Linked DNA regions of Homo sapiens: all the other regions are linked to region 3. The links are contacts of gene promoters, found by promoter capture Hi-C in blood cells and fetal thymus (Javierre and others, 2016). All regions are on one chromosome and are shown on one strand. Each heading gives the region's core, a stretch centred on a gene start or on the middle of the fragment in contact. The rest is flanking DNA. Distances are from core to core; before and after follow the strand shown. Region 1 overlaps ZNF131 (zinc finger protein 131). Region 2 holds the start of C5orf34-AS1 (C5orf34 antisense RNA 1). Region 3 holds the start of GOLPH3 (golgi phosphoprotein 3).

What was found. The method cuts DNA at HindIII sites, captures the fragments that hold promoters and counts their contacts. A CHiCAGO score of 5 or more calls a contact.
Region 1: a contact is called between a fragment that was not itself captured here and the fragment with the promoter of GOLPH3 in region 3, in 1 of 17 cell types (total B cells). The highest score is 6.3, in total B cells.
Region 2: a contact is called between a fragment that was not itself captured here and the fragment with the promoter of GOLPH3 in region 3, in 1 of 17 cell types (total CD4 T cells). The highest score is 7.1, in total CD4 T cells.

The regions. Positions count from the first base shown.
Region 1 is chr5:43,121,801-43,124,500 of GRCh38, reverse strand. ZNF131 (zinc finger protein 131) reads right to left here. Exons shown (of 7, transcript NM_001330707.2): 2 at 2,324-2,462; 3 at 1,191-1,292. The coding sequence starts at 2,447. Among named protein-coding and RNA genes, the nearest start is that of ZNF131, 2.2 kb to the right of the region's middle. RefSeq lists enhancers at 1,932-2,499, 2,500-2,700 and a silencer at 2,646-2,700. The HindIII fragment of the contact is 1,187 bases long and covers 811-1,997 here.
Region 2 is chr5:43,483,731-43,486,430 of GRCh38, reverse strand. It overlaps C5orf34-AS1 (C5orf34 antisense RNA 1), which reads right to left and starts at 2,512. Exons shown (of 3, transcript XR_007058763.1): 1 at 2,430-2,512. It overlaps TMEM267 (transmembrane protein 267), which reads left to right and starts at 2,566. Exons shown (of 3, transcript NM_022483.5): 1 at 2,566-2,609. RefSeq lists enhancers at 2,237-2,426, 1,692-2,535 and a silencer at 2,481-2,700. The HindIII fragment of the contact is 1,744 bases long and covers 423-2,166 here.
Region 3 is chr5:32,172,729-32,175,587 of GRCh38, reverse strand. GOLPH3 (golgi phosphoprotein 3) reads left to right here and starts at 1,269. Exons shown (of 4, transcript NM_022130.4): 1 at 1,269-1,778. The coding sequence starts at 1,554. RefSeq lists a silencer at 1,376-1,985. The HindIII fragment of the contact is 5,568 bases long and covers 1-2,262 here.

The DNA of each region.
Region 1 (2,700 bases), core at 155-2,654, about 11 Mb before region 3:
GCTAAACTGGAATATACCAAAATTAAAGAATATTCTTAACTCTTTTTTGTTTTCTTTACTCCCCTAGGCATCAAAGGGAAAAAAGGAGTTTCTAGGCAACCCATTCAGAACAAAGAATACGTACACAATGAAATAGATATAAAACCAAAACCCAAGAACCCTAAAAGAAGCTAAAATTCTGTAATTACGTAGGCAAACATTTATTTCCTGCTGTTTTAGATTTTGATGCTGGTGGTAGGGGAGGAGTTACTGCAGTAGCAGAAGAAAAAGCATGGTAATTAATAGCACAAACTTAATTCCTTGCTAGTTGGACAACCCTGGGCAAGTAACCTTTTAGAGCCTGCTTCCTGAAGTGTAAATTATTACAAATAACACCACTTCCCTTTTTGAAAAGAAAAGAAAAGAAAAGAAAAGACAGGGTCTATGTTGCCCCAGGCTGGCCTCGAACTCCTGGGCTCAAGCAATCCTCCTGCCTCAGCCTCCCGAGTAGCTGGGACTACAAGCACAAGCCATCCTGCCCAACATCAAACGATTGCTGTGAGCCTTAGACAATACACAAAACTACATATCACAACGCCTGGCACTTGGCAGGTTATTATTAGAAAAATGTCTAGAAAGTACAAAAATCACTTTTTGCTTCAAGGTAACAGGTATTGATCCATCCCATTGTAGAGCCAGAATTTCCTCTAAATGCTACTTCAGTTCATTTTTCCTAGCTTTCTCCCTATTATGGCAGCCCACTTCACACTGCATGTCATCTGTACCTCTGCTAATACATCACTACTTCTGCTATAGAGTACAGTAAAAGCTTCTACTGTAACCTGCAGCATCTCCAGCAGTCTGAAACATAAGCCCACTGAACAAAGATAGTAATTCACGTTTAATACTTGTTTTCAAAAAACAATGACCACCAGTTTCCACAATGGAAAAGACCAACATCTACCATCTAAGTTTTTCCTGGCAGATCATTCAACCAAGCACTTCACTGAAAGTAAGACTTCTCAGGTATCAAAAGAACAATTTATCTACCTTTACCTACAGGAACTACTGATGCCTATTTCCTATGGTGTCTTGATAAACTGTCTAAAACTGCTTCACCAATTGTTTGCTAAGTATTGTATTTAAAACAAGCATTTAAATAAAATGGCTTCTTTGATTTATTAAATAAAAAAACAACAAGAATCATTTACCTTCTATCTCCACCAATGGTTCTTGGGTAAACTCCTGAAAGAATTTGTAGAAGAACTTACTACAAGCAGCCAAAACAGCCTTGTGAGCCTTAAAATGGTGTCCTAGGTAAAATAAGAAAAAAAAAGAAAATCATACACAAGCACGAAAATCAAATGTATAACTACAAAATAGACTTAAAAATCATATAAAGCAAAATAGGTCTTCCTTCATTACGTAACTACAGAAATTATTGAACTAAATGCAGAATATTCTTGGCAGCTATCTTGGCAAATGTTAATCTCAATTAGATATAAAGCTAAATCTTCACTTCAAACCCCTTTAGTTTTATAAAGCCTAATTTACAACACTAGGTAAGGAGCCTCTTGACACTCTGTTGTTTCCAATTAAGTAGTGAGAAGCATATCCAACTCAGTTGAAACTGCTAAATAAAAGGACAACCCAAAAGGTCACATATCATTTGGAAAGAGAGAAAAAAACCGTAAGCACAAAGCTGGATATGTCTGCTATGAAAAACATTTTAATATGCCTAATATTTGGAAGCTCCATCTATGGTAGACCCATAATTTTAAAAACAGGTTACCTTGAGAAACCTATTTTCGCTAAACAGAAAACATACCCACGCTGGATTTCCTTCCATTATAGAGGCAACTCCTAAGGCTGGTAAAGACCCCATTTTATTTTGGAGATTCTCAAAGGGGGTATGAGTGCTGCAATGGAATCTCTCATTCTCCCTTCAAGACCATTTGGGAAACTAGAAAAAAAATCAACACTTCCCAAATGACTCCTGTAAGGGACTTCTCAAAGCTTACCAACAAGAGGCTATCAACCAAACATTTTGAGACAATCTGTCCCCAACGACATCATCTTGCACTCAACAGGATGTAAGAAGTTAAAATGAGATGAACACCAGACTACGTGGAAGGCATGACTGACCAACCAGCCTTCTGCAGCACGCTGTGTGAGTGGACACTGACAAGTGCAATCTGGTCCCAGTGCACACACTCTGCAGACTTTGGTAGGGAGACCATAGAGGATGGGTTAAAAAAAAAAAAAAAAAAAAAAAGGCGGGTGTCCGAAGGACAGAAAAAAACTGAAGCCAAAAATTCGCTCCTCTGCCCACTGCCCTACCCACCGTCGACAATTAGGGTGATGTCAGTAAACCGGTCCTGCTCTCGCTGTTCATTCAATCGGTCGAGGATCATTTTATGATGTTCAGGGAACTCCTGAAGGCATTCCATCGTCTCTTCAGCCTCCATGGCCGTCGGGCTGCTCTACAAAAGAAGAGCATGATAATGTACACCCATGAGCTCGAGCCGAGGAACAAAACCCCTAAAGCATAAAACAACAACAAAAAAAACCAGCAACGTGAAAAGAAGGGGGGAGGGTGAAGCAAGAGGAGAGAAAGGCGAGGGAAGAAAGGCGAGCCGAGCGGCCCCGGAGCGTTGAGACCGGAGCCGCGGCCGCGGGACTCCGAGCCTGACCTAATTGGAGTCGGGAGACGCGAGCTAG
Region 2 (2,700 bases), core at 45-2,544, about 11 Mb before region 3:
CCTGGCTAATTTTTAAAAATTTTTTTTGTAGAGACAGGAATCTCCCTATCTTGCCCAGGCTGGTCTTGAACTCCTGGCTTCAAGCTATCCTCCTGCCTCCGTTTCCCAAAATGCTGGAATTACAGGTGTGAGCCACTGCACCCAGCCTCTTTTTTTTTAATATGCAGAATTGTGCATTTGTTCACTTGCTATTTGGTCCCTTTACTCCAAGTATTTTTCAGTAGAGCTATGAGACAAGAACTACATCTCAAAAACAAAAACGGAGACAAGCAACATTGTAAACTAAAAATCAGGCACTTTGGCAAAGACTGTATCTAAACTGTCTCATGAACCAGATACTTTCTTTTGAACACAGGAAAAGATTTATGCTGCAAAGTGTTTAACAGAAATGAGCTCACCAAAAGTGCTATTTATTATAAGCTTGTCTATTAAGAAAGAACAAAACCAAATATCTATAATGACGTCAAGATTACACCAAACACAACCAGAAATGTTCTAATTTTCTGATTTCTATAAAAGACCTGGCTCTTCAAATAAACGGGAAGCAGTAACAGAGAAAACGAGAAAAATGGGGAGAAGAGTGTAGATCAGGAATGATAATGTCACTAAGTTAAAGGGGCACAATGCCTTTTTTTTTTTTTAGTTCCTCTGACACTGGATTCCTTCACATTTCAATTCTCAAACAAGTACCATTTCCTCAAAAGGGCCTTCCTTACTACCTGACTAAAGTTAGCATCTCCCAAGTCTATTACATCACCCTATTTACTTCCTTTATAGTACTTATTACAATCTGTCTAGCTTGTTTCCTTGTGGCTCACACCCTCCACTAGAACTTGAGCTCCATAGTCATTCTGTAGCACACTGAGAGCACTCTGTTTGTATAAATGAATCAGTAAGCTGGGCACAGTGGCTCACGCCTGTAATCCCAACACTTTGAGAAGCCAAGGAGGGGGGAACACTTGAGCCCAGGACTTTAACACCAGCCTGGGCAACATAGCGAGATGCCCATCTCTACAAAAAACTTAATTACCTGCACGATGGCATGTGCCTGTGGTCCCAGCTACTCCAGAGGCTGAGGCCGGAGAATCCCTTGAGCCCAGGAGGTCAAGGCTGCAGTGAGCTATGATTGCACCACTGCACTCCAGCCTGGGTGACAGAGGGAGACCCTGTCTCAAAAAAAAAAAAAAAAAAAAAAGGAATAAACATCTACAGGCAGTAGACCGACTACAGAGAAAAGAACTACTATTACATTGTTTGGGTTTGCATGAAGCCATCTATGTTGTTCCTCAATAGCTCCATAAAGCCTAGATTATAAGACTTTGTACCACACTGCCAAAAGGGTAATGCCAAATTATTACTGCATTCAGAAGGAGAAAATTTGTCCTTAACATGGCTAAAAGCACTCAAAATTATAAATACATTTGCTGAAAGATACTTTAAATTCTCATTTAAGGTGTGTGGGAGTTAAAAGGTGTTTAATTTTCCCTGTCAGTTGGGTGTTTTACATTGGCTAAGAACCAAGACTGTGACAAGAAATGAGTTCTATGATTGAGAAACTCTAAGATTCTGGGGGTGGCCTAGGAGTTTACTTTGAGATTGAAATTTATTTTCTATGGTCAACTGTATAATTACGATGATACCACCCCTTGCTTTCCATCTGACACTTGGTTTGAGAAACTGTAGGTAGGAAAGGGAAAGAAGAATGTCCCTCCTTGGGCCTCTTCTTTTGGGCCTGTGCTTCCTAGAGTCAAATGTCAAGCTGGTATTTCCTTGGTGCTAAGAGCAACCACCACTCTGAGGCAGAGACGGGATGGGACCTAGCCAAAGTCCCAGTAAACAAACTGTATCTTGTAAGCGCAATTTAATTAGGGTCAAACTATTCTGTATGGACTTGCTTTTTCGACTTCTGAGGATTTAGTAGTCATGATTAAGTGCTGTCACGCTACTGCGATCTACAAACAGTAGCTCCACAACATCCGCCCGCATCGTGGCAAAGAATTATCAAGAAATCCCCAAGGGGGCGGTGAGGAGCCGCCGGTCGGCCAGGTCGCCCGGTCCCTCAGTCTGGTGAAAAGCTCCGTTGCCCACCCTGAGGGCTTCGCGGAAGGAAGTTGGCCGTATCGCTGCACCTTAGAGATGCGACGGCCGAGGCTCCCAGCTCAAGCTTCTGGTAGTAAGGCCTGTGTGCCTGGCATTCGGGGAGGCCACTTTTCTATCCCCAGCTTCCGGGCCACCACTTGGGTGCGTCGTGGGGATGTCGGCAGCTACGTTTGCGGCACAGCTCCGGCTAAACTGAAAAACGAATCCTCAGGTTTGACAAAACTAAACTAAAAAGACACTTTTCTCCTCTCACTCTGACGTCCCAAAAGTTTCCTTTTTAGGGGTCGGGGCCTACGGTGGGCGAGGAGAAACTCGAGGTATCTACCCACCGCACCAAACAACTCATGCGTCGCTTCCTTTCGACTTGGAGCTGGCCAGTATCCCGGCGTCCTCTCGGCCGACGCTGCGGTCTGAGGCCACTCTGGCCGGCAGCCGACGTCTCTATGGCTCCGACCGAGGGGCGGAGCCGCTGCTCGAGCTGCTGCTGGATTGAACTCAGAGAAGCCGGGGTGGGTATGGCTGAGCCGCTGCGTGGGACTGAGGGGAGGGGGCCGGGTGGACGCCGCGGAACTGCGTCCTGAGGTGGGAGACCGGAGGTGG
Region 3 (2,859 bases), core at 20-2,519:
CAGAGCTTGCAGTGAGCCGAGATTGTGCCACTGCACCCCAGCCTGGGCAACAGAGCAAGACTCCGTCTCAAAAAAAAAAAAAAAAAAAAAAAAAAGAGGGTGTGAATGGGAGAAATTGGTTGAGGTGAAATCGACCTTCACCAAGACAGGTGGGAAAAAGGGAAGGTCTACTTGGTGTGCCCCCTGGACCCTCTCTTCCCTTCATTTAGCACTGTCACTTTCCAGGGCATGGGATGGTAGGCAGCAGCAGTTCTGGATAATGGATTTGTGGAAGAGAAGAATCCATCTAAAGCACTCTTTAGCCACAGCCCATGATCACTTTTTTTAAAAAATTTTTATTTTTTGCTTTGCTGTTGTTCCACTCTGTCCATACATTGTTTAATACAGGATGGCACACAATACCATTCCTGGTTAAATGTTTCACTTAACAAGCGCCACCCTCTACTCCTCCAACTCCTGTCTCAGGTTTGACAGCTATTTTTTTAACCTAATTTGCGCACGCCAAGAGGATTTCACCTAGTAACTACACGGAGAGACATCCGATGCGTACAAAGACGTGGCATGAAACGCTGCAGGTTTATTGTCTCTATAAAAAGATCGTTAAGGTCGAGCGTGCTAACGTGTGCGGTACTAACTGTACTCACTACGCCCTGGTCACTTTATAGCACAAGTCCGAGGCAAGGAAAGAAGTTTTACAAACAAAACTGGTCAACTGTTCTATCTTCTTACTCCTGGAAAACAATAAAGGTCCACTTTCAAACCATTTGGACGCACTTGCTCCTTCTAAAGGGTTAGGGAGTCCCGGCAGATAGCGTACCCCTCCCCGCCCAGCAGCAGAGAGCAAAGTCCTTCCTGCCGATCCTGCAGACCCCGGAGTCCAAATGGGACCCCGTCCACACGACCGCGGAGTCGCCTCCGAAGACGGCGGTGTCTGGGGCGTGGAGGGCACGGCTGGAGGCTGAGTGGGGTCCACCTTCGCGTGGCCCAGGCTCTTCCATTCACGGGGGGCCCCGCCAGGTTCAGGCTCCAGCCCTGGGTAGTGAAGGGGAAACGGGGAACGGAAGGAGGGAGGGCACGTCACGGGAGCAGGACTGCAGGACCGCGGGTCAGGGGGCGCAGGAACGCCAAAGAAAAGACAAGCACCGAGGGCCGGGAAGGGTGTAGGCTGCAGTGGCAGCGGATCCCCGGCCGCCGCTTCCGGCGCCTCCCGGCCCAGCTCTCCCGCGCCGACTCTGCCACATCCTCCGGTGACGTCAGCCGGGGCCGCCATATTGGAAAGGCGCCGCCGCCGCCTCCGCCTTGGAGCTCGGGGTGTTTCGGGGACTGCGGCCACAGGCAGGAAGGCGCTCCTCTCCTGCCCCGCCGACGCCCGGCCAGCCCGCTTCGCCCTGACCTGTTTCCTCATGACTGCCCCCGGCCCTGCTGCCGACGGACGTCGCCCCGGCGTCCGGATTTAACACGGAAACCCGGATCGGAGGCCGCGCGGGGAGGAGGAGGGCGACCCGGTCGGTCCTGCGACCCTCTCGGCCCGGCTCGGCGCCTCGGCGGGAGCCATGACCTCGCTGACCCAGCGCAGCTCCGGCCTGGTGCAGCGGCGCACCGAGGCCTCCCGCAACGCCGCCGACAAGGAGCGGGCGGCGGGCGGCGGCGCCGGCAGCAGCGAGGACGACGCGCAGAGCCGCCGCGACGAGCAGGACGACGACGACAAGGGCGACTCCAAGGAAACGCGGCTGACCCTGATGGAGGAAGTGCTCCTGCTGGGCCTCAAGGACCGCGAGGTGCGGGCGCGGCGGGCTGGGCGGGGGGCGGCGGCGCGGGGCCCGGGCGCCAGGTGAGCTCCAGGTAGGTGCCAGGTGAGCGCCCGAGGCTTCCGGCCCGCGCACCTGCCCTCGCTCCGAAGTCCGCGCCTGGTGGCGCCCAGCTGACGCCGAGCGGTGTCGGAGTTGGTTGACCCCCTGGCGCGGCTGGTGCTTTCTGGATCCTCCCCGTAGAGATGGCTTGGATTTTTCCTTACCCCTTTCACAGTCGCTCCTTTCATTTCGACACCCTGGCAGTTTGTATTTCTTCGTCGCCTTTTTTCCGCGTTTTTAACCCGTGTAGACCCCAGGGTGCAAATCCAACCCGGAGACTGCCCGGGAAACTAACAGCTGGAGCCACCAGCGCCACGAACTCTTTGGGTTTTTGCAGGCTTTAGGACCTGGGAGGGGTGCCCGGATCTGCTTGCTGGGGATGTTTTTTTTTTCTTCTTCTTCAGTTAAAGCTTACTGTTGGGAATTACGAAAAACGTAGGCGAAGTGGTAATAGAGGGAAAAGCTCTTTTACTGAGTAAAGTTAAGTTAAGTTTCTCATGAAACCTCCTGGTAAATGACTTTCTAGGTGAACTTACATTAGGTGAGAGATTATTTTTAGTATCGCTTTTATATTTTATCAGTTGATGAATCTCAAAGTCTTGCCGTCTTAAGAAAGGGCTTTTTCATCGAGTGCTTGAAATGTAGGTTTGTGAGTTGATCAGAGGCCTCAAAGCTTCAGGTGGGTTGAAGTTGCAATAGATAATTCTTTGTATTCTGACTTTGAAAGCGTTTATTTTCACTTCAGTGTCCAAAATTTTCACACACAGAAAAGTTGAAAAAGTGATAGATACATATGCATATATACTCTTTCTAGATTCTATGACGTTTTGCTGTATTTGTTATATTTGCCTACAAAAATGATTATTTATTTATGTGGAGACGGAGTTTCGCTCTTGTTGCCCAGGCTGGAGTGCAATGCCGCGATCTCGGCTTACCGAAATCTCCGCCTCCCGGGTTCAAGCGATTCTCCTGCCTCAGCCTCCTGAGGCAGGCATGCGCCACCATGCCC